Linked DNA regions of Homo sapiens: regions 2 and 3 are each linked to region 1. Evidence: promoter capture Hi-C in 16 types of primary human blood cells and fetal thymus (Javierre and others, 2016). All regions are on one chromosome and are shown on one strand. The core of a region is centred on a gene start or on the middle of the fragment in contact, and the rest is flanking DNA. Distances in the headings are between cores, read along the strand shown. Region 1 holds the start of GPX3 (glutathione peroxidase 3). Region 2 overlaps NDST1 (N-deacetylase and N-sulfotransferase 1). Region 3 holds the start of MYOZ3 (myozenin 3).

Region 1 (4,974 bases), core at 1,366-3,865:
CGTGGAATCCCAGAGCACCGCATCTGAAACAGTGGCCAGAGGAGATAAGGGGAGAGGCCATGAGGGTGCCTGAATCCTCCCACAGCCGGGCAAGAGAAGAGGGTTCCAATGGCTTGAGAGTTGGATGATGGGACTCAGCCAGGACTCTGGCTGGCTGGGGCTGCTGGTCTTGTGTCTTTCTCCTCTCCCGTCTTATTACTCCTATCAATATGATGCTGTGAGAAGTGGTCTGGGAGTCAGGAGACCTGAGTGCTGGGCTTTGCTGTGTCTCTGATGCCATGTGACCCCCTTTGCTGGGGCTCCAGCTCCTCCATTGTAAGATGGAGTCAGGTTCAGGGCTGTCTTAAGGGCCCTTTAACTCTGTCAGCCTGTGGTTCCATGATTCTCTCTGCCAGGTTTAGTCACCTAGAAACCAGCAGTTACTAGGATCCCGTGCACGTCAGCAGTTGTCACTCTTTCCGGCTTCTGCAGTCCTTTTGTAGAGACAAGGAGCGTGGGCAGCCTGAAGTTGGACTGGGGAGGTGACGCAGCAAGAAGAGGAGGACCTGGTCTCTTCCCTAGCATCTCCCTTTCAATTGGTAGGAGGAAAACACCTCTCTGGGGCTGAGTCACCTTTCGTCCATTCCATTCTCCACATGCCCCATAACCCTATCTCTTTACCCTGGGGTTGGGGGTAAGGTGAGTGGTTGGGTCCTAACCCAGAGCTAAGACATCTGAACTCTAAGAACTTGGGAGCAGAGATGGGCATGCCCAGGCTTTCATTAGCCAGCAAGTCCTGACTGGTTGTATGTGATATGATCACACCTCACCCTAAAACTTTTCTAGACCATCCCCATCCTATTCTCTCTGAGTCCATTTATCCTTCCCCAGAGTGCTGCAGAGAAGACACAGCTATGATGAGTTATTCATGGAGTCCACGTTCTCCCCACTAGCCTTCTTGAGGCAGGGCCCAATTGTATCTTCTTTGACCTTTCCAAAACTGAAGGTTGGGACTGACTCCACGGTGCTGGCCTGTCTATGGCCCACCCCAAACCTCAATGTTGAAAATCGATCCCATTCCTGACCTGGAAAATGCCTTCTGAGTTGGGGATTATGAACAGGGATGGATAAAAAGGAGGGGACTTGGACGAAGTGGCTTCACATCCATTTAGACTGACTCCAAGGAGAGGCTGATTAATCGGATTTAGGCTGAGGACCGAAAAGGGGTGAGTAACATGGAAGGAACCCTGTGCTTCCAATGGGCTTCCTGAGAAGTGGACAGAATTTTGGAAACGGAATCCTAGACTCATAAGAACTTAATTAAAGTGAAGACCCAGAGGATTTTAGAAACAAAAGCTCAGAGCTTGCAAAAATGTGAGTTATGCATGTTGGGAAGTTGGAGACAGAAATCGCTCGCTTTGAGTCTATCCCTACACCTGGCTTCTGCCTCCTTCCCCACCCACTCCCACTCCCTGGGTAGAGGAGAGGTCTACAGAGCCCACCCCAGTACATACTGTCAAAGGAGATAAGCATGCTGGGTCATCCCACTCCTGGCCTCAGTATCCCCACTCCAGGTGTGGGCCACACACCTGCTGGAAATAGACTGAGGCTCTAGAGAATTCTACCTCTTCTTCTGAATTAGCAGTCCCCAGCTTTCTCCAACTACCAGGTTTCCTCAGGCTAATGAGGACAGTGGGTCCTGGGTAGTGAGGCTGCCCCAGGGGAGGAAATTTCAGAGAACAGCTTGTGGATTTTTCAGCTTCTCCAAGCATCCCCTCTGAGGCCCTCAGCTTCATTGTGCCCCATGCACTCCCACCCCCAAACTCTCCCCTGCAGATGGAGAAACGGGGGTCCAGGAGCAGGTAAGGACTCAGGGTCCTGAGTGTTCTGCACTGTCACTCCAGAGCTCTTTCTAGCACAGATCTCTGCCTCTTCTACCAATGCCCTGAATCCAAGTGGCCATTTCTACCTGCCTGTATCATTCTTGGGGTAGAAGAGCCCCCCACAGCAGTTCTTCAGGACCAGGACCACCCAGCTGCCTCTCTCCTTTCTCCTTGTCTCTCTCCCTGGGAACTTGCACAGCCCACCCAGACGCTGGGCATTTTTTTCTGTGACGCCCTCCCTCTTAGGCCCTACTGAAGGGGAGCAGCTCAGGCACGGAGGTGACATAGATGTAGCAAGGCGACCCTCGAGGTGGCAGTGGGGAGAAAGTGCGAGCTCGGGGAGAGAGACCTTCCTCCCTTAGTCATTCTGCCCGCCTGAAGCACCAGGTCTCGGCTCTCCAACAGATGGAACTACGAGACGACGACGGTCGGGGGCGGGGTCCCGGCGGCGGAGGGGGCGGCAAAAGGGGTTCAGGAGGTCTCTCGCACCTGGGGATTGCCCATCTGGCGGGGAGCCTGGGAAAAGGGGTGCATTGCACTGAGCGCTGGACACCGAGGGGCTAGGTTTTTTCTCCCGGCCCCCGGCCCGGAGGCTCACTCACCTTCGACTTCTCTTGTCCCCGGCTCTGCGAGACGAAGCCGGCCAGGAGCAGGGAAAGCAGGCAGGACGCCTGCAGCAGCCGGGCCATGGCGGGGTGGGGGCACACTCAGGGTCGCCTGAGCCGCTGCCTGATCCCTGGCCACCGTCCGTCTGAGGTGTCCGGCGCTCCCAGCCACCTTTCAAGCCCTCGGGTGTGACCAATCCGCGGCCAAGCCGAGACCCTTGCAGCCAATCGCTAGGCGGCTGGGATTTCAGGGGCGGGCGCGACTTGCCCTCAGCTCCCCACCTCCCCGTCCCGGGGCGACAGTGACATAAGCAAATCTGGGCAGAGAGGTGGAAGTCAGGTCCCTGTGGACGTGGGAGGCGGTCCCTTCCTCTTTTGGCTCCAAAGTGCGAAAGGAGGCAGACACAGCGGTCTCCATTACAGCCAGGGCAAGGGGGCTAATAGCTCCCTAGAACTGATGGAAGTCTCCATTCTGGGAAGCATTTCTTATTCCTATCGAGGTTTTAAAAACACCTGGCGATGGTCCTCTGGAAATTGAGGGTTTAAAATTTCAGCAAGAGCTGAAGTTAAACTTCCAGAAACATTTACTATATATAGGTTTAGTGCTTAAGAAACAAAGAGTGGGTGTCCTGGGATTTTGAAAACCCCATTCTGGGTAGGGCATTAGGACTGTAGGGACAGAGAAGGTGGGGTGCCTTTCCTCCCCATCATAAGGATCACAGCTGACATGCCTGTAGAAAAAGGTTAGCAAGAGAAAAGCATAACGATTTATTTAATTAAAGTTTTCTGTGACATGAGAGTCTTCAGAAATGAAGACCCAAAGACTCAAGGAAAACTCTATTTTTAGGCTTAGATTCTATGAAGACCATGGAAATGCGCAGAAATGTGAGTGGGGAAAAAGGGAATGGTCTAATAGTAATAAACTGAGTGGGAAACCCAGCAAGGCTTGTCTGTTCGTATTCTTCTTGGCCTATCTGTGGCCAAACCACCTGGCTTAGAAGCAGAAAATAAATTTGCTCCCTGTGTAGTCTTTAACATGTTGCAGTTACTCTCTGGGCCTCAGTTTCCTCAGCTATGTAATGATGGGATTGATTAGTGATCTCCAGTGCCCTTCTGGCTCTGGCTAGATGACTTGTTTCTAAAGTAAGTGACAGACGGAGACCAGGAGTCCTTTGAGAATAGGGCCCATAATCACCACCTGGCACAGGGCCTAGCACACAAGAGATGTAAAGTATTTGCTGACTTAATCATTCATTACATTAAAAAAACAAAATCTCCATGGAACACTTAGGATCAGACCAGGCAGTTCTAGGGCTGGGCTGTCTAGGTATGATCCCGTTCACAGATGGGGAATGTGATGGAATCAGTCTCAAATCTCTCTGACCACCAGAGTCAACTGGGAAGCCTTTAATACAGATTCCTGGACCCCACTTTGGAATCACTGCATTAGAATCTCTAGGGGCAGAAGCTGAAAATCTGTCTTCAGACATGTTCTAAGGTTATTGTGAGGCAGTTGGCCTGGCTGTAGCCTTGGTAGTGTGAGTCCTAGGATTAAGTGCCTTCTGGAACTTTCTTCTGACCAAGAAATGCCTTGAGAAACCATACCTTTACTATGATTAAAGGTATTAACATCCCCCTGGGAATTTGGAAGATGTCTCTCAAGTTTTGCATTCTCTACGAAGTCTTCCCACCTCAAACCACAGCCTGTTGAAGTGGAAGGAACCACAGAGGCCAGGAAGTCTTTAGCTGAGTTAAAGCCTGGGAGCATATGAACAATGGCTGACACACAGTAAGTGCTCAATACGTTTTATTCAACCACCTCATTTCCCTGAAGCCTAGAGATGAGGAGCAATTTATCCAAGTTCCCATAACCAACTGATGGCAGGGAGGGAACCAGAATCCAGGTCTCTAGACTCAGTCTCAGGCCCTCTCCATGTTGTTCTGTTGTCTTTTAAGGTTCGTATTTACCCTAAAATATAAACATCTGTGTGCACATCAGTTTGTCAGAAATCCATTGTTCATTAGTATCAGTAGGCATCTAGTGACCCTCAAAATAGGCACCTAGCAACATGTTAACACCATGAGAGATGCTAAAGAGTTGTCTAAAAGCCAAAGTCCCTGCTCTCAAAGGTGTTTCCAGCAGATACCAGCAGGGTGAGGGAAGGGAAGGCACCTAGGGTCACACAAGTGCAGGCTGGCACCTGGCAGCGGGCATCTCTCTACATTTTGCACCCTCTATGTCTCACTTGTCTCACCTTAATCCCAGCCCTGGTGGTCTATTTCTTTAGGGGAGACAAGAAGGAGCCAGAGACCTGAGATGCTACCCCTGGATTGCTACGGAAAGTAATAAAATTACTTTCCTTCTCTGATCTCAGTTGTCCACCTATTTAACAAGGATCTTTGACAGTCTCTCAGTGGTGGTGTCTGTGGCTTTTCATTCCTAAGAGTATAAGGAAAGCCTGAGCCATACAAAACAGGAGTACAAAACTGATGACATGGACAGTGGG
Region 2 (4,974 bases), core at 1,024-3,523, 470 kb after region 1:
ACCCATTAGCTAACAGCCCCCCAGGCAGCTTATCTGCCTCTCCTTCTACCCCCCATACCTGCAAGTCCCGGCAGTGTCTGGACCTAGTGGGTCTTCAAGAAAGGTCTGTTAGTGGGAGGAGAAGTGGCAGCAGTGACCTAGGCAGACAGACTTGGAACATGTGGCAGGTCCAGTCTCCAGGCTTGCAGAAGGGTCCAGGCAAAAATCCAGAAGATCTCTGCTGTCACAGGATTTCCAACCGCCTGCTCCTTCCCATAGCCAGAGGCAGAGAGAAGTGGAGCTCCTGCCCTAGGCCAGCCCACCTCTCCTGCCTTCCATGCTCTGCGAGAGAGGCCTCCAGGCCTAGAGGGTAGATTTCCGAACCTGGGAGCTGTAAGATCCTCACCCATCCCGCAGCCCAGTCCCCTCACTGACGGATGGGACTCTGGAAGTCACTGCCCCTCTCTATAAGCCCCTGGCTCCATGGCGTGGGCATGTCTTCATGAGCACACAAGCAGACATGCCACCCTGTCCTCAGACCCTTTGCTGCTCATCCTGCTGGCCCAACGATGCCCAAGTTCCCAGGCTTGCAGGCCCCATTGAGAGGCATGATGGGGACACTGCTGTGTACACAGTGAAACCACCTGCAGCTGGTCCCACTGAGTGTCCAACTTTCTTCATCCCAGCAGAGAACTGGAGAAAAGGGAATCAGCTCAGAACAGACCCAGGCCCCCACAGGCTGGGGAAGGACCCCTCGAGGGAGAACACGACAGGGATGCAAACGCAGACCTCGGAATGAGAAGGCTCAAAGGCACCCTGGCTGGGAAGGAGTGGTTTGTCCCCATATCCTGGAATGACCATGCTGTGACGGAGGAAGGGACAGGAACCTGGCACAGAGTAGGGTCCCAAGGATGGGCTCAGAGGCAGTGTGGCATTGGAAGAGGAGCACGATGGGACTTGGAACCGGGAGCCTCGGGTTCAACGCTCAGCCCTGCTCCCAGCTGGCTCCATGACGTCGGCCAAGCAGGCCACCTCCCCTTTCTGGACCTGTTTCATACCCGTCAAAGGACCTTCCAGCCCCAAGATGCTAGAGTCTTCTGAACAAGACAAGCCTCTCCAGAAAGTATTTCCTGGGGTTCAGAGGGAAGCAGAATTTGGCAGTTGGAGGGGGCCAGGGAGAGGCACCCCAGCCTCAGTCACTTCACATTGTTAAATGGGGTGGGGTAGGAGCAGACCCCAACCAGAAATCAGCCCAGAGATCCCACTGTCTACAAGGGCCTGGAGACAGTTCTGTGGGCCTTGGTGGGCATCCCAGCTCTCAGGGCAGCTCCCAGCCTAGCACCATGTGAGGGAGAGTGGGTGGGGCAGCTTTTGACCCCAGCTCTCCTAGCCCAGCCCTGGCTGTTTCCTTTGGCCAAAATCCCCTCAGGGTCACTGGACTTCACGCAGCCCGATGTCCTGGAGAGAGCTGGTCTTCCCTGCGCATCTCACCACCTCTGTTCACCTGGGGTAGCCCCAGAGCAGCCACGGCACTGGGGAGGGCCCCTTCCTAAGGTCTGCTCAGCCCCAGGCCACTGAGGACACAGCCTCCCTCCCTGCCACCTCATCTCTAGCTCTAAGACAGGGTGACCCCTGAGACTGGGGCTTACCACCATTTTGTAGGACTGAATTAAAAACGAACCCAACCAAAAAAAATAGAATATATATATATACACATTATATATATATATATATATATATAACACAGTGCGACCCCAGCACCCAGGGTATAAACTCTGGCACCAAGAAAAAAAAAAACAAAATATTAAAATATTTTAGCTTCTTAGTATTTGGGAGGTTAAGGGGGTCTCTGAGAGCCCTCGGCCACAGGTGGCTAAGCAAAGCCGTGGCTGGCAGTCTCACCAGCTCGCCCATGTCTGCCTGGGCCTGAGGCTGGGAGGGTGTGGGGACCGTGTCTGTACATGGGAACATGTTACTGGCAGACCCCTGGCCTGCCTCAGTCTTTTACCACAGGAAACACCACACATCATATCCCAGGGGGAAGAAAGGGGTGCAGGTGGGGCCCGGAGAACTGGGCCCGATGGCAAGGCAGTGCCCCAAGGCCCTGCGGGAAGCCTTGAGGATGGAGTGGATACTGTAGGAACCAGAAATTCTTCCCCAGAACGGGAGGGTGAGATGTGAAGGTAGGAACCAGATGTGGAGGCTGGGAGTCCTCTTGAGGGGGCCACCCTCCCATCCAGCCTAGGACTGACTCCGGGGACCCAGCTGGCCCCTTGGAAGAGCCTGGCTCGAAACAGGGAAATGTCCAGTCTGTCTCCCCCGGCCAGGCTCTCCTCCCCTACAGCCTGGAGGACAGGGACATATGGCAGCGAATACTGAGGGGCGCCCTGCGGAAGCAGGGAGTGATGGGTGACGAGAGGGGACAGTCGGCGGAACACAGTGAGGGACAGAAAAGAGTCTCGTGGACTCCCTCCTACCAGGAAGCGGCCTCCCCAGGAGCAGCTGGGAACGGAATGGACCTCTGCTGGCGAGGGAGGTCCCTTAGGCCGCAGACCCAGCGGTGGGTGCTCCGAGGTGCTTGCAGATCCGCCTGGGTGCTCCCCCAGCCCCACCAGACCTCCACAGAGTATTGCTCATAAGTGCGCAGCTGCCCTGGTCCAGCTTCCCACTCTGCAGGTCTGGCTCAGCGTGTGGTGGGATGTCCCAGCTTTCACAAACGTTCAGTCTGGCTGTGGTGGCCACGGCTACCTGGTGTTCTGGAGGTCCTCTCGTAGCCAAGTGGGAAGTGTCTGGCCCATCTTATACAGCAGCTTGGAGAGCTCGATGTTGTGGTCCCGGTAATAGTCCTTCAGGAAGGCTCGGGACTGTAACGGGAAGGAAAGCTCAGACCTTGTGTACTGACTTAAGAGTGACCTCCTCTAAAAATCGCCATGCTCGGCCGGGCACGGTGGCTCATGCCTGTAATCCCAGCACTTTGGGAGGCCGAGGCATGTGGATCACCTGAGGTCAGGAGTTCAAGACCAGCCTGGCCAACATGGGAAAACCCTACTAAAAATACAAAAATTAGCGGGGTGAGGTGGTGGGCGCCAGTAATCCCAGCTACTCGGGAGTCTGAGGCAAGAGAATCTTTTGAACCCGGAAAGCGGAGGTTGCAGTGAGCCAAGATCACGCGATTGCACTCCAGCCTGGGTGACAAAAGCGAAACTCCGTCTCAAAAGAAAACAAAAAAACAAAAAACCCACCATGCTGCTGGCACCACCCCCCATACACCTCTTATTTATCCACAATCTCCTTCTAAATGGTAGCCTCCAATAGTGAACTCCCAGTTGGCAGGAGCATCAAAATATAGCTCACTAAGTCAAAATTCTTCTGATAGGGAGAGGAGAGAGAATTAATAATCAAAACCCAAGGCGGGCAGGGCCAGGGCCAGGCACGGTGGTTCACACCTATAATACCAGCACTATGGCAGGCTGAGGCGGGAAGATCGATTGAGCCCAGGGGGTCGAGGCTACTGTGAGCCATGATCATGCCACTGCACTCCAGCCTAGGCAACAGAACGAGACCCTGTCTCAAAAACAAAACAAAACAAAACAAAACAAAAACAGAAGCAAGTAGGAAAAGGAGGAAGTAACAAGACCCCCAGTCTGTGACCCTTTTTCTATATATTTTTAAAATTTCTTTTTTCCCCCTATGGTTTTACACATGCTGTTCTTACCTACCCTCCCATTCCATATGTCCAAATCCTACAAAATGGATCTCATCCTTCTAGGCGCAACTCCAGAGACCCCCATCCCTCCTTTAAGGAGCCTTTTTTACCCCTCTCAGGTTCAAGTGACATCCCCTTGTTCTGAATTCCCATAGCACTTGTGTGCCCTCTCTGACTGCGCGCAGCACTCTCTGCCTGTATTCTACTTAGTGGTGTTGGGACTCATACCCCTCCAAGACCAGGAGTTCCTTGAAGGCAGAGAACATGTCTGGCTCATCCTCAAAACCCCACAGCACTCAGCCCTTAGTAGAAGGTAACCAACACTTGTTTGACGAAATCAGGTCTGACCCACCATGTCCCAGCCCCCATTTTCCTCCTCTTACAAATACTGTCCAAGAAATGCTAAGGCCATGAACATGCTGAGTGCATGGTAAAGGAAAGAGAATCCCCCTCAACTCCATACAGGGACCCCTTACCCTTATGCAGGTGCTACAGGTAGTGTGTCCACCACTTACATCCAAGTCCATCTCGGGATATTTCCGGCCCTTGCTTTTGCCCAGACACTTGGTTTTTCCTCCTTCAAGCAGTTGGCACCAAAATCCTTTCTTTGGATCAAACCTGTGGAGGTGGGAAAGTCTTTGGATGGGAGCTGGCTCAGCCACCCACTTCCGACCTTAAAGCCATGTTCATGGACCCCAGGAATGGCAGAGACCAGGGAATCTACTGCTCTTGAACCCACATGGACTGTCAGAAGCTATGTGCCATCTGTGGGATCAAATGTGTCCTAGGCTGCACTAAACGTGCCTGTCCTACTTCCGGCAAAGGGCAGCTCGCACATTCTGAGTCTTCTCTCCTCCAGCCCGACCAGCCACAGCCGCTTCAGCAATCTACAACATGAACAGTTTCCCATCCTTCAGTGTTCTGGGAAATCTTTTCTGAGCATTCTCAATGCTGAGTAACTCTTTTTTTTTTTTAAACCCAAGAAGCCTTCTTTACCCCTCCCAGCGTCAATGGGAAGAGGGGTGTTTAGTGGAGGTTCTTTTGCTTTTTAATAAATTTCATCTTTATCAAAACATGCAGTATCCACAGCTGCACTTAAGCATGCCTGTCACTGGAGAATTTCATTTTTTGGAGTAAACTTCAGAAATGACACAGCAAGACTGCCAACATCATCCTGTCTTCAAAGGCATTTTTGGGATATGAGATCCGAAGCTGTTATGGGAAGGGAGGAATACTGACATCAGAATTTAGCCCTGGATGAGGAACTATGAGGAGATTCTTGAGCATGA
Region 3 (4,974 bases), core at 847-3,346, 360 kb after region 1:
CAGCCACAGGTAGGGCTGGAGTTGGGACCAGAGTCTTCAGAGCTTAATTTGGGGCTGAGGTGAGGCCTTAGATGAAGCCAGGGCCAGGGTCATTTTAGAGCCAAGGCCCAGCCTGGGACACTCAGCCTCAGCTCCTGGGTCTGTGGACAGATGGGCAAGACCCCTCCCAGTGCCTCAGGGAAGCTTCCCAGCCTAGGCAGCAAATTCTACAGGCACTCCCTCAGAGCTGGCCTGGAGCTCACACCTGTCTGCCCAGGCCTGGGGCCAGCAGGCCAGAGTGAGTGCAGCCTGGGAGCAAGGAAATGATGGAGTCTGAGGAAGGCATGAGGCTAGAACCACCTTACCTGGTTCAGTGAGGTCCCCCATGGCAGCCATCACTGGCCCCTTCTGCTCCTTGGGGATCATCCTGTGGAGGAGAGACCCCCATAAATGGACCAGGCTGCCTCCATTTCTCCCCAGACCTCCTTCCAGTCTCTGGTTCACCCTGCCCCAGTCCTGAACAGCTTTAGGCCAGCCCCAAATCACAAGCAAGGGATGTCTGAGCTGGAAGGGACTTCAGGGTCTCCGTGCAGAGGAGACTGAGGCCCAGGGAACGAGAGGGAGGTGCTCAAGTTTGCACGAATCTATTTTCATGTTGCTAGGGAAGCACTGTCTCTTCAGGGGTGGTTTCTAGGGCCTTTTCCCAGCTCTGGCATCCTGATCAGAGGGAGAGTAGGTGCCAGGGGCATCCGGGTGGGGCAGGCAAAGGTCTCAGGCACTACTGTCATCGGTTGACCCAGGAGAGTCCTAGTCCAAGGCTGAAAGAAGTTGGAGGTTTAAGTTAGGGGAAGGGGGAGGATGGACTAGGTTGGGGTTACACTGGGGTCTGCAAGGCTGGTGAGCCCCTTTCATCCTTGGCACTTGGCCCTGACGCTTGAGGGCACAGGCTGGTCCAACCAAGCAGAGAGAACCATCCCCCGTCCTCCCCATCTCCCCGCTACTGGGCTAACTTCCGTGGTGTTCTCTTCTCCCTCGTCCCTTCTCTTCCTCCTGTTCCATCCCCCTATTTGTATCTCATGGCACTTTCAAAGAATCTTGGAAGAGATTTGCAAATAAAATGAGGTCCAGAGCCCTTAACTTGCCCAGGTACCTTAACTTGCCCTCTGGAGAAGAGGCAGAGCCCTTGAGCTCCTCGACTGACCACCCACCTGGGTACCCTTCTCCTTTGCCTCCAGGTTTTCCTATACTCCTTCCTTTAGAAAACAATCTGCCTTCATCTGTATCCCCAACACCGACAAGGGGCCCTGGGAGTCAGTGGGCACTGCATTGTGCAACTGGAGTCTAGTGGGTGTCCCTGGCTTTCTCTGTAACTGCGAACAAGTAGCTTTCCAGCTCTGCACCTCAGTTCCCCCATCTGTAACAGTAGGGGGTTAGGCTAAATCACAGAGATCCATGGATGGGCTTTAGGGTGTTCACAAACCCCCTAAAACTATACGTAAACATGAGTGTGTCTACATGCATTTGGGGTGAGGGTCATGGGATGATTGAGAATGCCTCGATCACAACCGTTTAGGATTCCACAGTCCACAGATCTGTTTCTTGATAAACACTCCCTTTACAGAAATTCACAGATGCTGGGAAGGGTCTCTCATTTTACAGAGAAGCTGCTTCCCTCTACTGCCTAAAAATCCCAAAGTCCTGAGCAGAGCCATTACCTATTCCCCACCTTTAATCCTAGCCACACCCTCCCCATTTAATGCAGGGTAACCTAGAGCTTAGAGTTCCTCTCCTCCCAAACCAGGATCGAGGCTTGCATGGGGCCCCAAACTCCCTAGATCCACTGCAGGGCCCTTCCTCTCCGGGGGAAGGAGCTCTGGGGATTGGCTCACCTCCTCTGCCCACTCCCCTGAGTTCCCCAAGCTCCCCTAGGATGCTGGTACCTGAGAGGATGGGACCACAATAGGCAGGAGGGAATCTTAGACCCTCAAGATTAACACCTCTGTCGGGAAGCTGAGAGTTGCGTGGCGTCCCTGTAGGCAGTCAGCGGTCAGCAGTCAGTAGGCAGCGAGCAGGGTGTCCCCTGCAGCCAGCTCTGGCTTCAGCTGATGAGAATCATTCCTGCCTTGCCATGGGTCACAGCCTTATTTCGGGCTGCAATAGGAGCTGGAGCCAGAGGCTAAAAGCACCAGACCCTAGGGAAGACAGGTGCCCTGGCAACAGGCCTGTGCAGACAGAGGGCTTGCACCCACGTGTACACACACACTCACATATGCACACACCAAAGTCACCTGGAAATGTTGAGGGTCAGCTGCTGGTAGCTTCCGCTTGTTAACTGTTATATCCTTAGTGCCAAGAATGGTGCTTGATAGGAACTCAGCAGATATTTGTCGAAGGAAGGAATGGATGGATAGATAGATGGATGAATGAATTGCTCCTCAATATCTTTGCTTGACTTATCCTTTTCTTCCTTCCTTTCTTCTCTCCTGCCTTTCTTCTTCTGCCTCCTTCCTGCCTGCCTTCTTTTCTCCCCTCCTCCCTCCCTCCCTCCCTCCCTCTACCTTCTCACATTCCCTGAGCCTCTCTCTAAGGACTGAAAATAAATAAGGCAGGGCTCTGTCTTCAAGGAGCTCAGCCAGGTCAGATTCAGACGGGTAAACAAGCTTTGGGGAAGGCTCTGGGAGAGCCCAGGGGAGGGAGTTACCAGCTCAGCCTGGGGTGGGGGGTGAGAAGGCTTCCCAGAGGAGGACACACTGGAGTTGGGCCTTGAAGGATGAGTGGGAGTTCACTGGGCAGAGAAGGGGCATGGCAGGCAGTGGACATGTCACCTACAAAGATGGGTAGGGGGTTGGCAAGTAGAGCCGGAGCTGGGGGCAGTGCTGAGAGATTAGCCCAGACAGTGGGGGCAGCGGCCAGATCCCAGCAGGCTTTCAAAAGGAAACTGTGTTTATAAAGGGTTGCTGACAAGATTAAAGTGGTGAAATGGAGTGATCGGATTGGCATTTTCCAAAGATATCTTTGCTGCCATGTGGGAAATGGGTTGGAGGGGGCCAGACTGGAGGCAGGAGGACCTGACTGTCACCAGGGGTGGCTGGATCAGGGCAGTGACAAGGAGATGGAGAGGAGAGGGAGTTGAGGGTTATTTGAAGAACCCTTGGGTCTTGGTGAGGAACTGGATGTGGAAGGTGAGGAAAGGGAGTCCCACTCCCCTGTTTCATGCTTGGGTGACTGGAAGGGGAGGAGCAGGAGGGGTGGGGGCAGACACTGAGGTCAGTTTTGGATGAACTTTGAGGTGTCGGGGGACTGGGATGAGATCACCAGTAGGCAATGGGACACTGTGCTGCAGTGAGGCCCCAGCCGAAGATAAAGATTGGGTCCAAGGCACACACTCCTGGGGAAGGGTGGGCCTAGCAAGGATGGGCTGGGTGCAGGGTGGGGACCACCGGTGTCTGTGTGCTGGCAGACTATCCTGGGGTGTATTTCTGACACCTCTCAAATCAGAAGCCTAGATTCTGCTGTCCACCACCCTGACCTTAGCTTCCTGGCCCTCGGTGGGCCTGAGCTTCTAGAGAGGAAGAGTGAGGTGTGTTCCCAGGGCAAGCTTAGCCTCACCTGGGAGCAGGATCACAATCCCCTTCTCTGGCCAAAGGACACTCCTGCCAGGAGAGGATGCCTCATGGCCCGAGTCCTTGCCTCACTGGGGCTGCCTGGCTCAGACGGGACCTCTTACAGTGGCGCCTTTCCTGCCCTGGCACCCCCACCTGCCATGAGGAAACAGCCTCAGAGCACAGAGCCCTGACCCAGCTTGGCCCTGCCCACTCTGGTGATAGTGCTCTGTGGTCAGGGCCTGGACAATACCACCCTGAGACATTACCTAGACCCACTCTCCCCATTATACGGATGGGGAAGCTGAGGCCTAGAGAAGGAGTGGGCTCACCCAGGGTCACCCCGCTCGTCCATGACAGGACCAGGACTGCAGTCCAGGTACTTCTATGGCCTCAAGTTGTCCGTTGTTCCCATCTCTCCCCATGGCTGCTTCTTCCCAAGCTCCCATCCCATATGTCTCAAATATTCCCAGCCACCCAGAGTCCCATGGACTGCTCCATGCTTGGGGAGAAGGGAAGGACATCAGACACAGCTGAAAATGACACAGGAGGCAGAAGAATGCAGGAAGCATTTATTGAGGGCCAGAGCTGCATTCTACAAGAGGCAAGAGGCAGGACACAGGCAATCTCTAGTGGGTTAGAGGAGAGGTTGGGGAGAGGGCAGTGACAATGAGAGAACAGCCAGGCGCTGGCTTGGGAACTGCCGGTTTCTCAAGGCTGCCTCCTGCTAGTCCTCTGGGAAATGCAGGTAGAAATGGATCCTCTATGCTACTGCCTCAGCCAGAGGCCTGATGGTGTCCCTTCCCTGGGAGGGGCCCTTAGCCCCAGTCTCCTGTGCTACAAGGGACCCAGCAGCAGGTAGGGGCTTTGGTAAATATAGTCACTCATCATTAACTGAGTAAGAGCACCTTCTCATCTTCACAGCAGCAGGAGCATTCCTGAGGCCCAAGGAGCCCTCTAAGGTCACTCTTTCATTCCAAAGCACCCTGTCCCAACCCTATCTTCCATACTGACCTTAACTCCCTCCAGCCTCACTTGGGGGTTCCAGATCTAACATCACCCCGGTAAGTCCCAAACCCAAACTGTCCCTCACCTTTAGCAACATCCTGGTATCCTTTCACCTACATACGTTTGATCCTCAGCCAATTCCATACCCCCAGCTGATCCTGAAGCTAATATTCTGAACCTCTAGAAGGCTCTACCAGCCAACTCTGGAAACTACAGAACTCAGCCATATTCCTCCCTGAGTCCCCCCTGGGGACCTGAATCACAGCCACCAAGGTTTAGGGAACCAGTGAGGGCCTGCAGCCAGGCTCCCCCAGGTCACTGGGCACCAGGCACTAGCTAGGTCAGAGTGCACTGGGGAAGGGATGGGGCAGGATAATGTCTACTT

Evidence for each region. The method cuts DNA at HindIII sites, captures the fragments that hold promoters and counts their contacts. A CHiCAGO score of 5 or more calls a contact.
Region 2: a fragment that was not itself captured here is called in contact with the fragment with the promoter of GPX3 in region 1 in 1 of 17 cell types (total CD8 T cells); the score reaches 6.2 in total CD8 T cells.
Region 3: the fragment with the promoter of MYOZ3 here is called in contact with the fragment with the promoter of GPX3 in region 1 in 1 of 17 cell types (naive CD8 T cells); the score reaches 5.9 in naive CD8 T cells.

The regions. Positions count from the first base shown.
Region 1 is chr5:151,018,232-151,023,205 of GRCh38, reverse strand. GPX3 (glutathione peroxidase 3) reads right to left here and starts at 2,615. Exons shown (of 5, transcript NM_002084.5): 1 at 2,465-2,615. The coding sequence starts at 2,551. RefSeq lists an enhancer at 1-1,170. The HindIII fragment of the contact is 15,890 bases long and covers 1-4,974 here.
Region 2 is chr5:150,551,082-150,556,055 of GRCh38, reverse strand. It overlaps NDST1 (N-deacetylase and N-sulfotransferase 1), which reads right to left. Exons shown (of 15, transcript NM_001543.5): 14 at 4,201-4,303; 15 at 1-2,843. The coding sequence ends at 2,724. Among named protein-coding and RNA genes, the nearest start is that of NDST1, 45 kb to the right of the region's middle. The HindIII fragment of the contact is 5,776 bases long and covers 1-4,974 here.
Region 3 is chr5:150,658,373-150,663,346 of GRCh38, reverse strand. MYOZ3 (myozenin 3) reads right to left here and starts at 2,096. Exons shown (of 7, transcript NM_001122853.3): 1 at 1,920-2,096; 2 at 345-406. The coding sequence starts at 405. It overlaps SYNPO (synaptopodin), which reads right to left. Exons shown (of 3, transcript NM_007286.6): 3 at 4,140-4,974. The HindIII fragment of the contact is 2,456 bases long and covers 186-2,641 here.